Regions from separate parts of the Homo sapiens genome. Here all the other regions are linked to region 1. The links are contacts of gene promoters, found by promoter capture Hi-C in human tissues and cell types (Jung and others, 2019). All regions are on one chromosome and are shown on one strand. Each heading gives the region's core, a stretch centred on a gene start or on the middle of the fragment in contact. The rest is flanking DNA. Distances are from core to core; before and after follow the strand shown.

Region 1 (3,984 bases), core at 696-3,195:
CAGGAGATCGAGACCAGCCTGGGCAAGAAGGCAAGACCCCGTCTCTAAAAAACTTTAAAAAATAAAAATAGGCCGGATGCGGTGGCTCATGACTGTAATCCGAGCACCTTGGGAGGCCGAGGTGGGTGATCATTTGAGGTCAGGAGTTCGAGACCAGCCTAGCCAACATGGTGAAACCCCACCCGTACTAAAAATACAAAATAAGTAGCCGGGCGTGGTGGCGGGTGCCTGTAGTTCCAGCTACTCGGGAGGCTGAGGCAGGAGAATCACTTGAACCCAGGAGGCGGAGGTTGCAGTGAGTCGAGATCATGACAGTGCACTCCAGCCTGGGCAACAAAGTGAGACTCCTTCTCAAAAAATAGAATAAAATAAAATCAAAATAGGCCGGGAGCGGTGGCTCACGCCTGTAATCCCAGCACTTTGGGAGTCCGAGGCGGGCGGATCACGAGGTCAAGACACTGAGACCAGCCTGACCAACAAGGGGAAACCCCGTCTCTACTAAAAATACAAAAATTAGCTGGGCGTGGTGGTGCGCCCCTGTGGTCCCAGCTACTCGGGAGGCTGAGGCAGGAGAATCGCTTGAACCCGGGAGGCGGAGGTTGCAGTGAGCCGAGATGGCGCCACTGCGCTCCAGCCTGGGCGAGAGTGAGACTTCGTCTCAAAATAAATAACTAAATAAAGACCAATAACTGTTTCCCATAGGGTTATGTAGTTGCAAATGAAAAAATTACTGGCATGTACTGCCTCTGCATATGAAGCATAATTTTGTCAAGACCTTATACCTGCAGATTTAGCTCTTTCGATTAACGGAAAATGTCCAAAATCAGTCTCCTCCAACCTATTTGCCGAACTGGACTTACTGTCGCTGAGTAGACCGACCGACATAGCTTACACGTTGTTCAGCTCGCTTGTAAGCAAACACACGAAACCACCTCACCCCTGACTTCAGAAAGAAGCCGTCCCGTGAATTCCTCACAGATGAAATCAGGAGCTGCCCCTCAAGGACTCTATTTCTTCCTTCGGCTCTATCAAATATTTTAAGGTACTTCCCAGCAACGGAAACATGGGACCCTGCAATGACAGACTTCGCATTCCTCCTGAGCGGACAGGCAATAAGCAAGTAAACGCGCAAATACCCAAGTGCGGCCTCAACCCGCGCTCCTGCCGGGAGGGTCTCCAGTCACCGAGTAACCCCGGCCCTGCCCCGCGCCGCCGCCGGGACTCCGCCCCGCAAGCAAGTGGGGTCTCCTTTGTCCCGCGCGCCCTGGCCGCGTCCCGCCCTTCGGCGTAGCCCATGGGAGGCGCCCTGAGGGCAGGGCCCTTCTGATTCCCCACCTGGCCTCGAGTGAGGACGCGCTCAACAACATCTCGAGTAAAGCGGGGGAACTCGCTTCAACGCGCAGACAGCACAGCTCTCGCCCAGCCCGGTCTCGGGTCAGCCGTCTCTCCCTGGACCTCAGGGACACTAGCCCTGGAAGGCCGCCGGTCGGGAGGGGACTCCCTCCCCGTCTGAGGGGCGGCCGCGGACACCCGGCGCCTTTCCCCCGCCCCACCCCGTGCGGCCTCACGCAAACGACAGGAAAAAAGCTGGGACCTTCGCCTCCGACTCAGTGTAGACGTCGCCATCCCGGTTCCAGATTTCCGCGCTCCAACGCCTCCGCAGCAGCCATCTTGCCAGAGGGCCGACGCCTTTTGACTCTGGCGCCAACCCGTAGTGCGTGGTCGCCGCGAGGGGAGTTCTGCGCAAGTACGGAAGCTGAGGTTCCGCGCTTCCGGGAGGCCGTCCGCCCCGCCCCCTCGCGGGGGCGCTTCATTGGTCATCGGCTCGCGCTCTCGCGCTCTCTTGCTGTCGCGAGAGGTGCTGAGGGGCGGCCTCCGGTGCGCCTGCCCTCCCGCTCCCCGCCCCCGCCCCCGCCCCCGCCTCCGCCGCGGCCCCCACCTCTGCCTCCTTCTACTCGGGCGCCCCGGCGGCCGCCACCTCTCCCCAGCCCAGGAGAGGCTGCGGAGCCGCAGCCGCCCAGACCGCGCAGCGCGGGAGGCAGGTTCCGCACGGTAAGATGGCGGCGGCGGGCCCGGGCGGCCGGGCCGAGCGTCTCCCGGGGCCGGGCCGGGCGGGCAGGCGGGATGTGGCCGGGGTGCGCGCCGCCCCCGCTCTGGGGGCCTTGGAAGCGCCGGCGCTGGCAGGTGCGGAATTGGGGCGCGCAGTGAGTCCAGGCCCGGACGGCCGCCCCGCGCCGGTGCCCAGGGGGCAGTCAGGGCTCAGCCTCCAGGCGCGCGGCCTCAGGCGCTGGTGTTCTGGGGCGGTCCCGGCCAGCCTGAGGGGCGGCGGTAGCTGTCTCTGTGGAGGAGCGACGTCCGTAACGAAGTCTTTTTAATAAAATCTGCTGCTTTAAAGCAGAAACCGAGCGGGTGAGGATGTAAAGTGTGGCATGGAAAGTAGGAGTCTTCAGCACACGGGTGTTTTCTTCTGCTGAATCTTTTTATGCTGGAGTTTGAGACTACCGAGTTCTTCCTGCTAACAGGACTGGCCAGTTCTACAAAGTTGTTGCTTTTCATGGGCGCACGTAACTGCCCGGAGTGGAAGCGCTGTGAGTGCCGATCACCGAATGGGCCGAGAGAAAAGGTGCCTTTTCCTAGGGAGCTCTTAACGTTGGTCCTAGGGCCGGGCGCGGTGGCGGAGGTCGAAGTGGGCGGATCACTTGAGCCCGCGAGTTCGAGACCAGCCGTGGCAACAGCGAGACTCCCTTCTCTGCTAAAAATAAAAAAATTAGCCAGGCAGAGTGGTGCGCTCCTGTTGTCCCAGTTACTCTGGAGGCTGAGGTGGGAGGATCGCTTGAGCCCAGGAGGTCGAGGCTGCGGTGAGCCATGATCGCGCCACTGCCCTCCAGCCTGGGCGACAGAGCGAGGCTCTGTCTCAAAAAAAAAAGAAAAAGAAAATGAGTCCTTAAGTTACCATTAATTGTCGTGAATAAAAAGTTGGTCTCAGTGAGTTTTGCAGTTGACAACGAAAGATGGGTGTTCGTGTGTGACAGCGACTCCTGGTTTCTCCTCCACTTTACCTGCCGCTCCACATCAAGTTTTCTTCTGCTGGTGCCACTTTCTCTGCTTTACCTTCAAGGTTGGCATCCTCCAAGTAATGGCGATTCTCATTCCCTATCTACGCTCTTCCTATGGTCTTTGCTGAATTCTTGGCTTTAAATATCCCTGTGCCCCAGCACCGCCCCCCCCGCCCCTTATTTCACTAATTCATGTTTTCAGCTCTGAGCTCAGGATCTGTAATTCAGACACCTGCTTGATTTCTCCAGACGCATGTCTAATAGTCACGTCAAACTTGCCCTGCTTCTCAAACCTGTTCTTCTTCCAGTCCTTCCTCCTTATTTGTGGCCCCATCTTGCAGGGCCTCTCATGCTTGAAACCTGTGACCATCTTCTATTCTTCCCTCTCTTTTGTCCGGTAATCTGTCTAGCAGCAGCCATTGACTCTGGCCAAAGCATCTTGATCTCACCTTGCTCTCCATCTCTTCTGCCGATGTTCTCTCTCGCTTGGGTGTCTCCCTAAGGGACTGGCTGCTCAGATCTCACCACCCTGCATTCATCCCATTTTCAGCCAAGAGACCAAAGTTTTTTAATTTATTGAAACACTTTAGCAGTACTTCGTATAAAGTAGTATGTGTAACGTATGTATCAGTGGCAAAAGAGAAAGACAGAGTGGACGGTGGCGTGCCCCTGCCTGTCTCAGGTATCCACCCATTCTCCCAAAGCCGGAACAGCTGCCTCTGGGGCTTCAGCCATTTGCCCCTCCCACAGGTAACCCCCTCCTGAGTGTCAGCTTTCATGCCCTTATTTAAAAAAAAACAAACAAAATAGGTTTGCCACGTACATATTTGTTGCTAAAGCACATGTCATGTATTTTGTCTTGTTGTTCCTGATAAAACTCACGGCAGATTTGGCCTCTCCTGCAACTCTCTTTTTCTTTTCTTTTTTT
Region 2 (3,984 bases), core at 908-3,407, 190 kb before region 1:
AAATAAGCCAGGCGCAGAAAGACAAATGCTGTGTGATCTCGCTTATGTGTGGAATCTGAAAAAGCCAAACTCGTGAAGACAGAGAGCAGAGCACTGAGTGCTGGGGGAGGGGAACGAGGAATGGGGAGAGGACGATCAAGGGCTGCAAAGTTTCAGTTATAAGGCGAGTACATTCCGGAGCTTTGAGGTATGGTGTGAGGACCAGAGTTAACAATACTGCATTGCGGCCGGGCGTGGTGGCTCACGCCTGTAATCCCAGCACTTTGGGAGGCCGAGGCGGGTGGATCACGAGGTCAGGAGATCGAGACCATCCTGGCTAACATGGTGAAACCCCATCTCTACTAAAAATACAAAAAAATTAGCTGGGCATGGTGGCGGGCGCCTGTAGTCCCAGCTACTCCAGAGGCTGAGGCAGGAGAATGGCGTGAACCCGGGAGGCGGAGATTGCAGTGAGCCGAGATCATGCCACTGCACTCCAGCCTGGGCGACAGAGCGAGACTCCGTCTCAAAAAAAAAAAAAAAAAAAAAACAATACTGCATTGCACACTCAAAATGTCCTCAGAGAATAAATCTTGTGTTCCCACCATAATCAACGGGGGTAACTGTGAGGTGACGGATGTTTCATTAGCTCGATGGCGGTGATCATTTCACAATGTATACATAGATGACAACATCACATTGTACACAGTCAATAGATACAAATATTTTTGCGATGGGCGTCTCACTCTGTTGCCCAGGCTGGAGTGCAGTGGCGAAGTCATAGCTCACTGTAGCCTCAAACTCCTGGGCTCAAACAATCCTCCCATCTCAGCCTCCCAAGTAGCTGGCACTATAGGCGTATGCCAGCATGCCTGGATGATTTTTTTTAGTTTTTGTAGAGATGGGGTCTCACTGTGTTGCCCAGACTGGTCTCAAACTCCTGGCCTCAAGGGATCTTCCTGCCTCAGTCTCCCAAAATACTGTGATTACAGGAATGAGCCACGGTACCTGGCCAATAGATACAATTTTTATTTGTCAATTATCCCTCAATAAAGCTGGGGGAAAAGGTTAAAAATATATACATTTAAATTTAAAACTTCCATGATTTCTTATAGTAATGTTACGGTTTTTGGTTTTAGGTTTTAATCTTCTTACCATGTGGAATTTTTTTGGGGTAAGATCTCTATGAGTTAGGGTACTAACTCCAGGAACTAAGTCAAATTGTCTTATCCCTTAAGAAAAGGAATATTTATTTCACTCAAGACACACTGAAAGTCCAAGAATAATAGCTGCAGGCGCAGCTTGACCCAGGAGCACAAACAATGTCATGGGGTGCCCCGCTTCACCGGTGCTGGCTTTATTCTTAGGCAGGTCTTCTCTAAAAGGTAGGAAAACGGCACTGACGGCCACGGATGCATTTCCTGCTCAGTGAGCCCAGGCAAAGCTGGTGTCTAGCAAAGGTTTGGGGCTGGCCCTCATCAGACAAATGTGACTGATGCAAATGTTTGGCTGACCTGTCCAATGAGGGCCTACCCAGGCCTTTTGGGATGTGTTGATTGGCCAGGTCTGGGCCACATGCCAGTGGGATGGAGGGTGCACGGCTCCCCAGGGGAAGGAGGCGGGTGGGACAGGGGCCCTGAGGACCCAGCTTCCTGTGGTCCAGGCCGTCAGCTGTCCAGCGCCATGCCTGGGTGGCCAGTCTTCTCCCCGATGATCTGGATGCTGTCTCCATCACAGATGGAGCTTCTGTCTGATCTGGCACTGTCGATGCCAAATTCTCCTCATTAAGGTCACTCTCAGTGACACTCAGGTACATCCCAGTGGCTGGCAAGGCTGACGCTCCCTTGTCCTAGCGACCTGCCTTTCAAGAGCCTTTCTGGCCATTCTGAGACTATTTCCCACTTGAACTGTAGAGTCCATGTGTCTATGCACAACAGCTCTCGTGTTTTATAGGGACTGGATGCACAGACGTGATCTCAACGGGTCCTTCTGTCCAGGAAGGGGCCTGTCCTTCCCCTCGCTCAGTCCTCCCCTCACCTCCCCTCACCCCCAGCAGCATCGCAGGCTTTCCTCCGAGTCCCCGCGCTGCCGATGGACGTGCTCCCTTTGCTTGTTGTGGAGGTGGGGGGCAGCTCCTTACCCAGAGCGGGAGAGATTACAGGAAAGGACGGCGCAAGCCAAAGCCCCTGCTTCCAGCTGTGCGTCTGGGAAGAGAAGGCCGGCCCCAGGAGTCGGGGTGCATTCCCCTCACCCCCCAATCCTACTCGGCTTCAGTCTCCAGGGTGGGCAGGTGGGGGAGGCGGGGGAGGGCCAGACTTCCTCTGCAAGGCCCCGCCTCTGTCCCCACACGTGGCCCTGCGGCAGACTCTGTTCCCTCCCTCTGGAAACGGCAGGATCCTCCAACGGGGGCAGCCAGGGGGCCGGGGCCAGACCCTACAACCCACCAGCCCCCAGAGGTAGCTATTTTTGCAGCCAGCCGTGTTGGTGAGGTTGGTATTTTAAATGTTTTGACATTTAAAATCTGTGTTGGATACATTGGTGCTGTTTAAACTATCCCCGGGCTGCGGTGACTCACAGGGAATGGGTTTATCTCCTGAGGCTGGGCCTGGCCTCCCCTGTCCCCGCTCCCAGCAGCCGGAGTGGGAAGAGGGAGTTTTTACCTGCCCCCAGTCTCACCAGCACCTTGTTGTCCTGCAGAAGGTGGACTTCGGCCAGAGCAGGAGAACAGGAGGGACGCGGGACGGCCTCAGATCCGGACGCCCAAGCAGGGGAGGGCAGAACAGACCCGCCACCCAGCCAGGGTCAGCAGCGGTGGTGGTGGCTCTCAGGAGCCCACACAGGTGGCACGAGCAAGGGGCGCTGGGCTGGCAGGTGCAGGATGCTGCCTCCCGGGGGTTTGAGTGCCCCCTCTCCATGCATGTCCTCTGATCTGTTAGCAGAACTCTGCTCAAATGGAATGTGAGGGTAAACTCAGGCCGCCTCCTTCCTGAAGGCCTCTGAGTGCTTCTGAGTGGAGCCGGGAGCTTCGATGGGAGCAGGAAGGACCTCCAGAGGTGCCTCAGCCGGTGCCCAGAGGGGGCCAGGGAGAAAACCTGCCGACATTCCCACGACCCCAGCACCTCTCAGTGGCTGCCCTGTCCCATGGCCACCGCCGCCTTCATTAGCGAGACACGGCGAGGATTGTCCTCACCGGGACCATCCTGACTTGGACTGTTGAGGCCATGTGGCTCTGCCCTCCCTTGTGGCAGGAGGTTGGGAGGGAGGTGGCCCCTGCAGCCCAGCCCAGGGAATCCCACGGCAGATACCCCTGGACTTTCTACCGCAATCACAGCCACCAGCCACAGAGCTAGTACAGGCCGCTTCTCCAAGACACCCAAAAGCTTCTTGGAATCAGAAATTCAGCATGAGGATCCCGGGCAGCTTGGCAGAGAGGGGGCAGCCTCCGTCCCCGGCACAGGATCGAACCCGCAAGTGTGGCAGCCAAAGACGCCAAGATCTGGCTTGCAGAGAAGAGCATCTTACAAAGAACCGAAGGCCAAGGAAGATTTTAAAGCCATTGATGGCTGTTATTCCACTGCCCCAGGGAGGGGTGCCGGTTTCTCCATTGGAAGCCGGGCCATGGCCGTCCTGGCTGGTTCTGCTGCTGCCAGTCCGCAGACATGTCCCCTTCCTGTTCTGAGCAGCAGCTCTGGTTGAGGAGGAGGCTAGGCCACTGCCCATCTGGGGAAGTCACAGCCACCCTGCCAGTGCCTACAGAGTCACGTCTCAGCCAGGAGTCGCAGAAGGAGCGGGACTCAGCTCAGGCCAGGCTCAAATCCAGGCACAGCCCCCCTTGCGCTGGAGTCTTTGGGCAGGACCTCTACCCTGTCCAGGACTCGGATCAGGTGCAGGGTAGCTATGATGACCCAGCCTTGTGGGTTGATGTGGAAGCTAGAGGTGGGGAGTGGGGGCTCCAGGTGCTGATAACAGGGGCCCTATACCTTTCAATGCTCTGAGAGGTAGCTG
Region 3 (3,984 bases), core at 1,019-3,518, 150 kb after region 1:
TTCCTCACCTCCAGACGGGAATGGCTGCAGTTCCGTGATCACAGTTCAGCGAGGATGAAGCAACCCCTCCAGGGGAAGCCTTTCCTTACAGGACCAGGCAGGTGGAGGCTCTGAGCAGAGGCTGCCATTGTTCCTCTTGCTGCAATGATGAGCGTCTCCAGCACCTGGGCTGCAGCTGTGGTGTAACAGGTGCGATCAGAACACCTGCCCAGCACCGGGCTCAGGCTCAGAGCGTCCTGAGAGTGGAAGGGGTGGGGAGGCTGGCGGCGGTGGTGGTGAGGCGGGAGCACCTGCAGGCTGGGGTCTCAGGCAGCCCCCGGAGCTTGCTGGGAGAGGGTCCCGAGCTGGGGACCCAGAGCTGACTTGAGCTTTGCTGATGACAGACATAGCTCATCAGACAGTTGTCACCCAGGCACCTGAGAACATGGTACTACTCAGGGAAGGGCACATGGGCATTAGCCAGTCTGTAAACATACCGCAAACTCTATAGAAGTAATTGAATAGTAACTATCATGTAATTGCAGGGTAATCACATGGTTATTTTTGCTTTGCAAATTAAAGTGTTACTATGAGATTGAACAATTATGCGGGGTAATTATACCCTGATTCACATGCTAACTCCAAGCAAAATCATCAGGTAAACCCTAGGGTGGGTAGTTACTGTATAAATATGGAGTCGTTGTGACCACATCATTATACATTAGTGGGAGAGTAGCTGGCCTCCTTTGGGATAAGCCTCCCACTGCACCTGACCCTGACTTCCCTACTGAGCACGGCTAGACCCCGAGAGCAACACCGGAAGCCCAGAGGCAGGGCGCCCCGAGACCTCGCACCAGGGGACCTGCTTGATGGGGCCCGTTTTTGAGCATGAAGCACATTCTGAGAAAGTTGTTCTTTTCCTGACACGCTGGGGTTTCGGCAGGGCTGGCTGCCAGCACATTAGGGTGAGAACTGGCTGCAGAGACTGCCTCTGTCACAACCTGGCCTGCAGGCTGGGCCACCTGCACCACACCTGTGCCCCAGGCTGTTCAACTCACTTGTGACTTCGGCCTCACGGCAACCCCACAGGTAACCCCAAGAGCGGGAGGCACCTGTGTGTCAGTCACGCCACCCCCAGGCCTGGAAAAGTACCAGCACCTGTCAGGCAGGCCTGCGTCCTCCCGGAACTTAGTCACTCACACATATGCTGCGATGAGCCACACCCACCCAAGATGCCATCTCTGTCCCTGGGTGCAGGTGACCAGACAGAGGCTGGGGAGATCGTCCCTGGGTGCAGGTTACCAGACAGAGGCTGGGGAGATTGTCCCTGGGTGCGGGCGACCAGACGGAGGCTGGGGAGATCGTCCCTGGGTGCGGGCGACCAGACGGAGGCTGGGGAGATCGTCCCTGGGTGCGGGCGACCAGACGGAGGCTGGGGAGATTTACCCAAAGCCCCCGTTGTTATGCGGTGCAACACTCAGCTCCCAGTGTGCCCTCAGGACCGCGGGCCAGGCTCTCAGCCGTGCGCTGCTGGCATCTGGGACCGAGGGTCTTGGTGGGGGCTGCTCTGACTGTGGCAGCGTGGCAGCTTCCCCGGCCTCACCCATGGGATGGCGGTAGCATCCTCTCCCTATTATACGTTTAATTATAACAATTAAAAATATCTCCAGACACTGTCAAATGTCCCCCGGGGACAAACATTGACTGGTGATCTGGCTTTTACAGGAAAAGGTTGCCCACGCTGGGTCATGACTGGAGTATTGGCTCAAACCAAGTAGCTTCAGGAAATTGAAAAAGGGGATTGTGAGTGACTCAGGGAATTGATAAGTTAAACTATTTCCAATATACACTGGGTGCTATAAATTCATTATATGTATTAAACGCCAAGACCAGGAGTGCTCTGTAAGCCATCAGTGAGCTGCCAAGGTGGCGGGAGCCACATCTGGGAGCCCTCAGTCACATGTTCTGCTTGGGAAGTGCCTGGGGTTGAGGGGGCTGCACACAGTAGGCTCTCAGGCACACAGTAGGTGCTCAGGCATGTAGTAGATGCTCATGCCAGGCCACTGAGACTCATAGGCCCTGTCATCAGCTGAGCATGTTTCTTAGACGAAAGACCTGGCCGCTCCCCCTGCCTCGCTTTTTTTTTTTTTTTTTTTTTTGAGATGAAGTCTCACTCTGTCACTCAGGCTGGAGTGCGGTGGCACGATCTCTGCTCACTGCATCCTCCGCTTCCTGGGTTCAAGCAACTCTCCTGCCTCAGCCTCCTGAGTAGCTGGGACTGCAGGAGCATGCCACCAGCACGCCTGGCTAATTTTTTATATTTTTAGTAGAGACGTGGCTTCACAGTGTTAGCCAGGATGGTCTCGATCTCCTGACCTTGTGATCCGCCCACCTTGGCCTCCCAGGGTGCTGGGATTACAGGCGTGAGCCACTGCGCCAGGACCCCAAGGTGCTGGGATTACAGGCGTGAGCCACTGCGCCTGGCCCCCAAGATGCTTTTACATTTCCACTGGACCCTTGCGGGAGGCGTTGGCTGGGCCGCCCTCCAGGACACTTTGTTCCCTCTGCTCAGGGCATTCTCAAGGCCTCAGCGACACTCGGGCCAGCCTTCCCTTCCCCAGGACACCTGCCCGTTCCCATCCCTGGATGTCCCAGGCCCCAGGAACCCCTGTGCCAGCCATCCTGGCAGCCCACCTGCCCACCTGACACCCTCCCCACACCAGCCTGGGATCCACGGAAAGGCGCGGATGTGTCACCCTTGGGAGCCAAGGCTGCACTGACACCAGGGCCTGTTGTGACCTCAGTTTAAGGGCAGCAAAGCTGTGAGCCAGGTGAGGCTTCTTGGCCAGCTGGAGGCTCTCCTGGGACACGGTGGGGAGTTATTGGGGAGGGCCCAGCATCCCCTTGAAATAGAGTGTTGGGACCTGAAGCAAGAGTCAAGGATACCGGCCGTCCTGGCTGATGGCCCTGAGGCTGGTCTGAGTGCTGCCCTGAGGGGCTGGATGATCCCTGCAGCCTCCTCCCCTCTCGGGGCCTCCGTTAGGAGAGGGCCAGGAAGGTCCTTCCAGCCTCGGCATCCGTGTCTGCCTGTGGACAGAGGCAGGCCTCGCCCCTGGCCCGCCTTCCTTGTAACCTTGACCCCACGAGAGACGCTGGGTCGGGGCGTTGGTGGATGGTGCCCTGCCCTGCATCGCCCCAGGGCGTTGGTGCCCTGCCCTGCATCACCAGCAGCAGCACTCTCCTTGATTAAGCAGCAAGGCAAGGTGGGTGCTGACTCGGAGTCACTCACAGACCGGAAGGCGAATTGCAGAGCCGCACCCTGTAATTTAGTCAAAATGAAAAGGGCAGGAAGGAAAGGTCAATACTGTTTTAAATTAGTCTAACTGCTCCTTTATGTAGAGGACACTGTTGCTCCAAAGGACTGGCGATTTAGCAGTTGGGGAGAAAAGGTCAAGCTTCTTGGTCCTAGGGCAGGTGATAAAAGCCAGTTAAATTTTTGGAAATCATACCTGCAGGTTGTCAATTCTGGCAAATTCTGTACAAATTAGTCTACTCAAAGGCTTGAAGAGAAGGCGTTGCAAACCTCACTGGCAAGCCAGGTGGACTGGGGTGGGATCACCCATACAGGCATGGGGAGGGGAAGGCCTGGGGCTGGGGTGGGGGAGACGGTCAGGCCCTGGCCCGCTCCATCCAGTTTCCTGCAGACCGGATCCCAGGCCCTCCTCACAGAGCACCCCACAGAAGGGCTGCCCCGCAGGGAGGCGCTGCAGAGGGCACCCCAGGTGTCCCCTTGCACTTGGGGTGTGCAAATCTGATCCTTGTCTGCATGAGCGGACAGAGACGGTGCCGGAACGACCCTGTTCAATGTGTAGCACCAACTCCCGGCCACCCACACCAGACACCCTCACCCCCAGTCTGGGGTTTCTGGAGAAGGGGACCAGGGGCGGCTCCCTTCTCCCCGCAGGCTTGCAGGGCTGCTCCTGACCTGTGCTGCAGCTCCTGGCT

Evidence for each region. The method cuts DNA at HindIII sites, captures the fragments that hold promoters and counts their contacts. A contact is called where the count stands out against the background at its distance.
Region 2: a contact is called between a fragment that was not itself captured here and the fragment with the promoter of GID8 in region 1, in 2 of the 25 tissues and cell types used here (adrenal gland and spleen).
Region 3: a contact is called between a fragment that was not itself captured here and the fragment with the promoter of GID8 in region 1, in 4 of the 25 tissues and cell types used here (H1 embryonic stem cells, IMR-90 fibroblasts, dorsolateral prefrontal cortex and 1 more).

Annotation. Positions count from the first base shown.
Region 1 is chr20:62,936,202-62,940,185 of GRCh38, forward strand. GID8 (GID complex subunit 8 homolog) reads left to right here and starts at 1,946. Exons shown (of 5, transcript NM_017896.3): 1 at 1,946-2,052. It also overlaps a transcript of DIDO1 not described here. RefSeq lists silencers at 1,147-1,196, 1,467-1,516, 1,887-2,116, 2,187-2,316 and an enhancer at 2,012-2,680. The HindIII fragment of the contact is 10,021 bases long and covers 1-3,984 here.
Region 2 is chr20:62,750,184-62,754,167 of GRCh38, forward strand. All of the region lies in intron 1 of NTSR1 (neurotensin receptor 1), which reads left to right. Among named protein-coding and RNA genes, the nearest start is that of NTSR1-AS1, 17 kb to the left of the region's middle. The HindIII fragment of the contact is 7,649 bases long and covers 1-3,984 here.
Region 3 is chr20:63,088,264-63,092,247 of GRCh38, forward strand. No RefSeq gene overlaps it. Among named protein-coding and RNA genes, the nearest start is that of LINC01749, 10 kb to the left of the region's middle. The HindIII fragment of the contact is 3,451 bases long and covers 544-3,984 here.